Regions from separate parts of the Homo sapiens genome. Here regions 1 and 3 are each linked to region 2. Evidence: promoter capture Hi-C in 16 types of primary human blood cells and fetal thymus (Javierre and others, 2016). All regions are on one chromosome and are shown on one strand. Each heading gives the region's core, a stretch centred on a gene start or on the middle of the fragment in contact. The rest is flanking DNA. Distances are from core to core; before and after follow the strand shown.

Region 1 (2,700 bases), core at 53-2,552, 2.7 Mb after region 2:
GGAGTTCGAGACCAGCCTGACCAACATGGAGAAACCCCATCTCTACTAAAATTACAAAGTTAGCCGCGTATGGTGGAGCATGCCTGTAATCCCAGCTACTCGGGAAGCTGAGGCAGGAGAATCTCTTGTACCCGGGAGGAGGAGGTTGCAGTGGGCCGAGATCTCACCATTGCACTCCATCCTGAGCAACAAGCGCGAAACTCCGTCTCAAAAACAAAAACAAAGAAAACAACAAAACAAAAAAACAGACGGAAATTTTATTATCCTGTGACAAACACTGTATCTTTGGTGAACTCAAAGTAGGTTTGCCCACTTTCCCACAGATTGTTTTGGTGGATTAATTTTTTGTTTCAGTTAGTGATAAACTTCCTTAGCTCTTTACTGAGTACAGGTTTACTGTATGTAAATATGTATAATATTAGATTAGTGCCTGGCACATGGTTAGCACTATCGATTTTTATTAGGGACTAGGTCTCAAACTTATGGTAATTAAGTAGCTCACTTTTTCTTTTGGGAAGACGTAAAAATATTCTCAAGCCTAACTCAAGACCATCCTTTCCTGTCTTCTAGTCTTGCCCACTCAAAGCTCCATCCTGCAAAAGTCTTAAACAGTCCATTTCAAAAGCCCAGCATTTTTAAAGGGTCTAAGGAATAGCACAAAACAAGATGCACCCAAAACGTCAAGGCCATACTGGACAAGGGCAACGTTAGCCATTTTTGGTCTGGGGTAATTATAGGCAGTATCTTAAAACAAGGCTTGAAAAATGTCATGTTATTTCCAAATCCCATTTCAGAACTTTAAAAAAAAAATAGCATTTTGAGCTCCTAAGAACGTTTTTGGCGGTAGGTGGCCACATGGAGGGTGGCACAGAGGCTCGGCGGGGGAGAGCGGAACAGAGCTGGGCGTGGCAGTGCCTGCGAGTCAGCGCCACGTAACCAGAGGCGCTCGCACTAATTTGACCTCTAAGAGAGACTAAGCGCAGGGAACAGCGGGTGCGGACATTACGGCGGAAGGCTCTGGAGGAAGCAGAAGTGAAGGACCTCGCAGTCCTGGGACGGTGGGGCACAGAGAGAGAAAGGGAGCCCCGGGCGCGGCGCGGTGAGGATGCGAGCAGAGGAAGGACACGCGGCGCCGGGTACCTGCCGGGAGCGCCGGATCCAATGGGAGGAGGGCCCGCGCCGCACCTCAACCTGGCAGAGGACGTCACGACGCCAAGGCGGTCGCCGGGCCAATGGGAGGCCGTCGCGGGCAGGGACGGGGCCGGGAGGAGTCGGGGCTGGGCCGCGCCGAGGCAGCTGGCTGACTCCAGTTTAGCCGCCGCCGGAGAGGACGGGCGCCGAGCCGGGGCTGCGGACTTCGGCCTGCCCCTCACCTCACTCCCGCTGCTTGCACCTCCCGGATGGTGCTGACTGCTCCCTAAGCGGCGGCGGCGGCGAGTCGTGAGGACGCGCCGCGGAGGCTGTTCGGGGTCGAGGCTTCCCGTCGCCGGCACTTCCTCTTGCGGCGCCCGTGCGCGGCCGGCCCGGCAGGCGGGATGGCGGCCGCGGCTCCAGGGAACGGCCGCGCATCGGCGCCCCGGCTGCTTCTGCTCTTTCTGGTTCCGCTGCTGTGGGCCCCGGCTGCGGTCCGGGCCGGCCCAGATGAAGACCTTAGCCACCGGAACAAAGAACCGCCGGCGCCGGCCCAGCAGCTGCAGCCGCAGCCTGTGGCTGTGCAGGGCCCCGAGCCGGCCCGGGTCGAGGTGAGCGGGCCGGGATGGGGCGAGCGAGGCTGCAGGGCCGGCTGCGCCGAGTACCAGGCTCCAGGCCTTTGAAAGCGCCGCACTCCGCCGGCCTCGGCTGGGGGAGGGGAGCCCGGCCCCTGCTCCCGGGGTGGAGGGCGGTCGGCTGCGCTGTTTTCCGGTGAGGCCTGGTCTTGCCCGCTCCTTTAGGGAAAGGGAGAGGGAGAGTCCAAGAGGAGCCCGCTATAAACGTTGATCTCCGGAGGGCCAAGATGCTGCTCCGGGATGGGCGTTTTATTGATCAGATGTGTCTTAGAGTAGCTAGAAAGACTCATCCCTACCAAAAAGTTTTTAACAGAAGGCTGCTAGGAGGCTTTTTGTATTCCCTGAGGATCATCACATCGGCCATTTCATTGTTGAAATAGCTTATGCCAAACTGCTTACCCAAATTCAACTTGGCACTGCCTGTGCTTTTTGCCAAATATGGATTATGAACCATGACTCTCACTTTTTAAAAATGTGCTTTGGCTAGCAGGAAGTAGCCTTTAGGAACGCAGAGGAATTAGTCTCCGGCAGTACAGCGTGCTGCAGCGATGTGGGATGCCAAAACTACATTTATAAGTAAAACAGAATCCTGTATTTTGTCCTTCCCTGAATAGATACTAGAAATCAACTTTTTAATCTGTTAATAGAATTAGTCCTTAGTCACTTGGCAGCGTTTTAACATTTCTCCCTTCTCCCAGTCGTGGGCTTTGTCGTCATTTCCAGTATCTGCTCCCTGAATCCCGGCCAGTGTGGCACTCAAACCCCCACTCCCACCCAGGCCACATCCAGCCCATCTCCACGTAACTAATCTTCCCGAACATTGAATTCTGCCATCTTGTCAGAAGTCGTCGGTGAGTTGCCTCCACTAATTTCAGTCCAGCCTTTTTAGGAGAGTGATGTTCAGGTTTCTTCTGATCTGGCTCCAGCTCACCTC
Region 2 (2,700 bases), core at 152-2,651:
ATCATTCCCCTGTTAAAACACACACACACACACACAACAAACAAACAAAACACTTGAACAGCTTTCCATCATTCTTAGCACAAAGTATAAACTCTTTCACAAATACAAAAATTAACCAGGCATGGTGGTGCATGCCTGTAATCCCAACTACCCGGGAGGCCGAGACGAGAATAGTTTGAACTTGGGAGGTGGAGGCTGCAGTGAGCCAAGATCGTGCCACTATACTCCAGTCTGGGCAACAGAGCGAGACTCCATCTCAAAAACAAAACAAAACAAAAAAACTCTTCCAGGGTTTCCTGCATGGTCTGGCCCCAAGCCATTCTCATCTCAGGCCACTCTGCTCCTTAAGTTCCATTTCTGGGAGTCCTTAAACAGGTAAAGCCCTTTCCTGTTTTATCTTGGGGCTCTGGACGAGTTGTTCTTTCTGTTTACAAAGCCACACCCCACCAGAGCTGCCTGTCTTGATCTGTTAACCAAGTGTAGGCTATTTTTTGGTTTCCCTTCCTGCTCCACCCCCAACACCTGGGGAAAGGCTAGGTAGCATGTTGTTTGAGGGGCTCTGCCTTCAGGCTGCTTGAGTTCAAATCCTGGATCTACCACTGGCTAGCTGCTCTGTGACTTTGGGCAAGTTACATAACATAATTATTTCCCCATCTATAATTTGGAGATGATTAAATATATTTTGAGGATTAGATTTGTTAGCAGATGGTAAGTACGTGAAACAGCAATAGAAGTTCTCCTTTTAGCATATACTCCAATTTTCTTCTACTTATTTGTTTGCCAAGTTTGAGCCTGTTACCTTGAGATTGCTATGGTTGCCTTCTCAACCTCCCCAACTCCTACCCTCCAGCTGATTATGGTCTACTTATTGGACTCTGTAAATGAATAAAGAGGGAGCATGAGGAAAGGAGGTAGTCCTTCTAGCTTTAGGAGAGGCCACGGGAGTGAGCTTGTTGAACAAGACATGGTCGTGGCTTCTCTTTAAGCTTACGGTTTAGGCGGACACAGATGATGAACACACACCGGATTAGTGTGGCTTTAAGAAAGGGAATCCCAGGGCCTTAGGCCAACCCTGGAGTAACCTCGATGCCCTCTCCAGAAGGGCACCCGAGGAAGGGTCTAGGGCCCAAGAGCACCAAAATCACCAACGCCGGGGATTGGTAGGTAGCCTGAAAAATCTAATTCAGAGAAGGATGCTCCGCGCGCAGACATGGCTTATCCCCGTGCTACTGCATGAGCCACACCTAGGCCGGCCCCGGACACCGACAGCCAATGGCCGGGCCCGTCCCGCCCCATCCGGGATTGGCTGTGCGTGCCGCGGCCCTCCACCCCGCCCCGCTCAGGATCTTCCCGGGATTGGCTGAGCTACCCGACCTCTCCAGGGGATCGGCTGCGCGCCCCGCCCTTGCCCAGAGTCTTCCCGGGATTGGCTGCGGGCCTCGCGACCCTCCTGCTTCCCTCCCCGCCCCGCGCCGCCTCTCTGGTTTGTGCGCCCGTCGCAGGTCGCAGGCCTCTTTGTCAGCTGGAGTTGCGCGGTGAGTGCATCTCCAGTCTTCGGCTTTCGGTCTCCCGCGGGGAGGGCGCCCGGCCGGCCCGTGGGTCCGATCAGGGGCTGGGCTCGCCCGGTGTCCCCACGAGCTTTGCCCGCCTCGAGCTCCTCTGCTCCCGGCGGCCAGAACGGAGGGGTAGAGCAGCCCTCGGCGGCCCGGGGGGCGGGCGGCGGTGCCCGTCCCGGGGCTGCGCGAGGCACAGGCGCCGCGCCCAGCGGAACAGCCGGAGGTTCCCGGCGCAGGTCTGGGCACCGTAACAATTTTGCGCTTTGCTTCCCCAGGGCTGACGCGCCACTATGTAGCGGGTTTCGGGCGGGCCACGCGTGCGGGACAGGAACCCAACCCCAGCCGACCTTGAGCTCCAGGAGTTCGTCTCTTACGTCTGCGGAAGTGCAGCTGCCTCAGTTCTTAGCGCAGGTATGTTCCTAGCCTTGAGCGGGGTGGGGGAAGGAATGAGTCAGCCTGGAGCACGTGGCCAGTGGGACCGGAGGGTTCCCCGGCGTCTGTTTGTCGCCAAGGTCCGAATCCGGCTCCCCTTAACTGGAAGGAAACATCCATGTAGGGGCTCACCAAACAAAACAGCTGTGTTTCTAGTGTGGTTTCAGACTTAGAGAAGCAGAGATCCACGAGGTATTGAGAGCAACGCGGAAAATAGTAGTGAACCCTGTAAAAATCAAAGAAAAAAAATCACAAAGCACCCTTTCCTGTGCCCTTTTAAGGTTGACCCAGTGCTTTAAGAGGCTAACACAGAAGGGTAAAGTAAGTCTCCATAAAACCCAGAGAAGAGACTGGAAAGCTCCTCTTTGGATCCTGTCTGGAGTCACAACTGAACCAGAAAAAGTTTCGTTACAACTTGAGCGCCTTTGTGATTTTCTTTACAGTTTATAGAACAAGCAATACATTTCAGTTTTCTTTGGTTAAAACGTCATTTTAAAACTTTTCTTTCTATAGGTTGACAACTACAGGCACAAGCCATTGAAGCTGGAATGTCCTGTTGCTGGTATTTCAATTGACTTAAGCCAACTATCCCTTCAGTTACAATAGGAAAGTGCCTCTAATAAGGCCAAATATGCGTACTAACTTGTAGCAACCACGTGTCCGTGCAGTGCCACAGGAGCTAGAGCAGTGACAATGCTGGTGGCAACAGGGC
Region 3 (2,700 bases), core at 6-2,505, 2.8 Mb after region 2:
TCTTGCAGAATTAGGCTCACCTACCATCAACAAGAGGACCTCTACAAAGCTACAAACACTTTCAAAGAATATAAACTCTGCGGCGCTGCGTGTAGGAAATTACACTCCAGGGGCCAGAGCGCCAGAGCCAACTCCAGAAAACCCAGCTTCACTGGCGGAAAGAAATCTACAAACGCCAGCGGCGGTGACGGGGAACGGGAAGCGCGGGTGGACGGAAGAAGAGAAACCGAGCGCCTCGCCGCCAACCCTCGAACCCGCGCGCGGTCGCTGGAGTCAGACGCTAATAGCCGCGCGCTGCCTAGGAACGGAACCCCGGAACCACCACCACTAACGGAACCAGCCCGCGGCCGGCAACGGCGGCCGTTCGGACTGCGGACTGCGGCACGCGGGCCGGGCGCCGGGAGGGCGGGGGTTCCCCGGAGGAGCTGGCCGCCCCGGCGCCCCATTGGGCGCTGCTCCAAACGTGCCCGAGTGGTGACAGGAATAAAGTGGGTCACAAGGCCTAGCGGGTCCCCAGCGAAAGCTCTCTCGGCACCCGGTCCCCGTCTTTCCCCGCCTCCCAGCTGCTGGAATCGGCCGCAGCTCCGGGCGCCCTCAAGCCGCCCGGCCCCGCCGTGCACCCCACTCCCGCCCCTGCCCCGCAGGTAACCCCAGCTGCCCCAGAGGGCCTCTCAGGCAGGGCGGGCCTCGGCCCGAAGTCCCGGGAAAAGACACACTAGAACGACACGCCAAACTTGGGCTTCAGCTCCCGCCTTCCCCACCCTTGGCCGCCGCCCCCCGGCCCCACACACGCCGCCCCCCGCTCCCTCCCCTTCCCCGCGCCCTCACCGTGTGGCTTGCGGCGGCTCCGGCTTCTTCCCTCCCCCACCCAGGTCTCCCGCTGCGGTGACTCGGAACCACTACCCCGCCTGTGTCCAGGAGGCGCCGCGGCTCCCACCTCCAGCAGCACCTGGGGCTGTGAGTGGCGCCCCCCACCCACCCCCCCAAAAATTCGCCGCTCCTGTGGCCAGCTCCTCCTCCCCCTCCCTTCCCTTCCCCTCCTCCACCAGCCCAGGAGCGCGCATGCGCCGCCAAGGAAGCCAACCGGCACTCGGCAGGCCCTGGGCCCACCGGGCGGGCGCCTCTCACCGGGAGCGCTCGCGGCGGCGGCGGCCAGATTTCCTTCGCGCTCTCGCTCTCCGGGGTTTCCTTTTTTAAACCGGCAGCCGCAAGCCGAGTCCGTGATTGCGCCCCCTCCCGGCGCATGCGTCGTCAGCGACCCCGCGGGCTCAGACGGCCGGCGGAGGCTCTGCGCTCGCCCCTCCCCTCACTCTCCCTTTCCCCAGCGCGGCTCGGTGCGCATGCGACTTGCCCCGTTAGGCAGCACGGAGCCGCGCCAGGGGATCCCGGACGCCCGAAGAGACTCCCGCGCCCCTTGGGCCGAAATCTGGCTCTGCAGGCGCACCGTTCCCTGCCCCGGCCGGGAACGGCGCCGGTTACTAGAAAGCCGGGGAGGCGGGGCCTGGTCGGGTGGAGGGCGCGGCCGGCCGGCAGAGCGCTAGCCTTAGGTCCTGGAGGCTCTTTGGCTTTCCCCCCGTATGCCGGGGGCTAGGAGGAGGAAGAAGAGCTTCCTGCCGGATGAGGGATCCAGAGGCCAGAAAAGGAACCCGCTCTCCCTTCCAAAGCAAAACACTGCCGACGCCAGCTTAGATTTTTCGGGTGTTGGCAGGAGACTTTTTCCCCCAGTGGCATCATTCGTGTTTCCTCTCCTGGTGCTGGGAGAGAAGAGTTGCAAAGGCGCCTGGACCGCCAGTAACATCTTCTCCCATCTCCTGAGGGAGCGCGGCTTGGGTTGCTTCTTCTTGGTGGGTGGGCCTGGGGAGACAGGGCATGCGCCCTCGGCCAGAGGAGGGAAGCGAAAGGAGGTCGGGATTTATTTGCTCATTTGGAGATTTTTCCCTTGCCCTTTTATTAAAAATCAAGTGACAGTGTAATGGAAGATGGAGAATGAAGCATCAGAAATAAACCAGGACCCTAATTTGCATGGATTTCCTCGTTGGAACAACGTGTGACTACTACTTATCTTCGGGAAATTACTTATCTTGATGCGTTAAGGCACATTTGGTCCACATGAGAAAGCACATTTCAGTGCTTCTACTGGAAAAGAGATCTTTACAGTCTTAATTCCTAGTAATTCCTATGTTTTAATGAATATCTTTTGGATTTGAAATAAAAGCCATCTTTTTCTTTCAAAAAATGCACTTTTCTGGCCGTAAAATCCTCCCTTTAAAGTAACAGTCACCTCAGTAAACATTTTCAATTCTTGCTGTATGCTCTGGGCAAAAGAACATCAAACTGAAGCACTTATTCAGATCCTTGATCCTGCACCTAAGGATTTTTCTTTCAGGAGTGGGAAAACATGATTTGTTAATTTACCCCATCATATAGCAGAAGATATTTTGGTCGACATTTTTGCCTGTTCAGCATTCATTCCCTATTCTGATAATTTCTTTTGAAGAACTATCATTTATCCACTCTCAGTCCATATGGTCTGAGCAGGACACAAGGGGAAGGCATATTTGAGTTTAATCCTCGGTTGCAAACTACGGTTCCTAAGAAGGGTGTTACGTCTTTACCAATGGGTTTAAATCTGGGAGAATGGAGACCTGGAGCCATCTTTCCACACGTGAATTCTGAGAAAGAAGGCAACACGGAAAAAAA

Evidence for each region. Contacts are between HindIII fragments. The CHiCAGO score rates a contact against its expected background, and 5 or more counts as called.
Region 1: the fragment with the promoter of TMEM165 here is called in contact with the fragment with the promoter of DANCR in region 2 in 1 of 17 cell types (naive CD8 T cells); the score reaches 5.2 in naive CD8 T cells.
Region 3: the fragment with the promoter of CLOCK here is called in contact with the fragment with the promoter of DANCR in region 2 in 1 of 17 cell types (non-activated CD4 T cells); the score reaches 5.4 in non-activated CD4 T cells.

The regions. Positions count from the first base shown.
Region 1 is chr4:55,394,655-55,397,354 of GRCh38, forward strand. It overlaps TMEM165 (transmembrane protein 165), which reads left to right and starts at 1,303. Exons shown (of 6, transcript NM_018475.5): 1 at 1,303-1,742. The coding sequence starts at 1,536. RefSeq lists silencers at 1,109-1,308, 1,509-1,978. The HindIII fragment of the contact is 4,477 bases long and covers 1-2,700 here.
Region 2 is chr4:52,710,993-52,713,692 of GRCh38, forward strand. DANCR (differentiation antagonizing non-protein coding RNA) reads left to right here and starts at 1,402. Exons shown (of 5, transcript NR_145129.1): 1 at 1,402-1,535; 2 at 1,832-1,967; 3 at 2,502-2,550. It overlaps MIR4449 (microRNA 4449), which reads left to right and starts at 1,690; the gene lies at 1,690-1,755. SNORA26 (small nucleolar RNA, H/ACA box 26) reads left to right here and starts at 2,257; the gene lies at 2,257-2,378. RefSeq lists silencers at 1,208-2,041, 1,216-1,785 and an enhancer at 2,036-2,085. The HindIII fragment of the contact is 6,853 bases long and covers 985-2,700 here.
Region 3 is chr4:55,545,654-55,548,353 of GRCh38, forward strand. It overlaps CLOCK (clock circadian regulator), which reads right to left and starts at 1,256. Exons shown (of 23, transcript NM_004898.4): 1 at 1,129-1,256. LOC124900704 (a long non-coding RNA gene) reads left to right here and starts at 212. Exons shown (of 2, transcript XR_007058122.1): 1 at 212-957; 2 at 1,963-2,236. RefSeq lists silencers at 252-881, 1,002-1,101, 1,162-1,531. The HindIII fragment of the contact is 4,589 bases long and covers 1-2,700 here.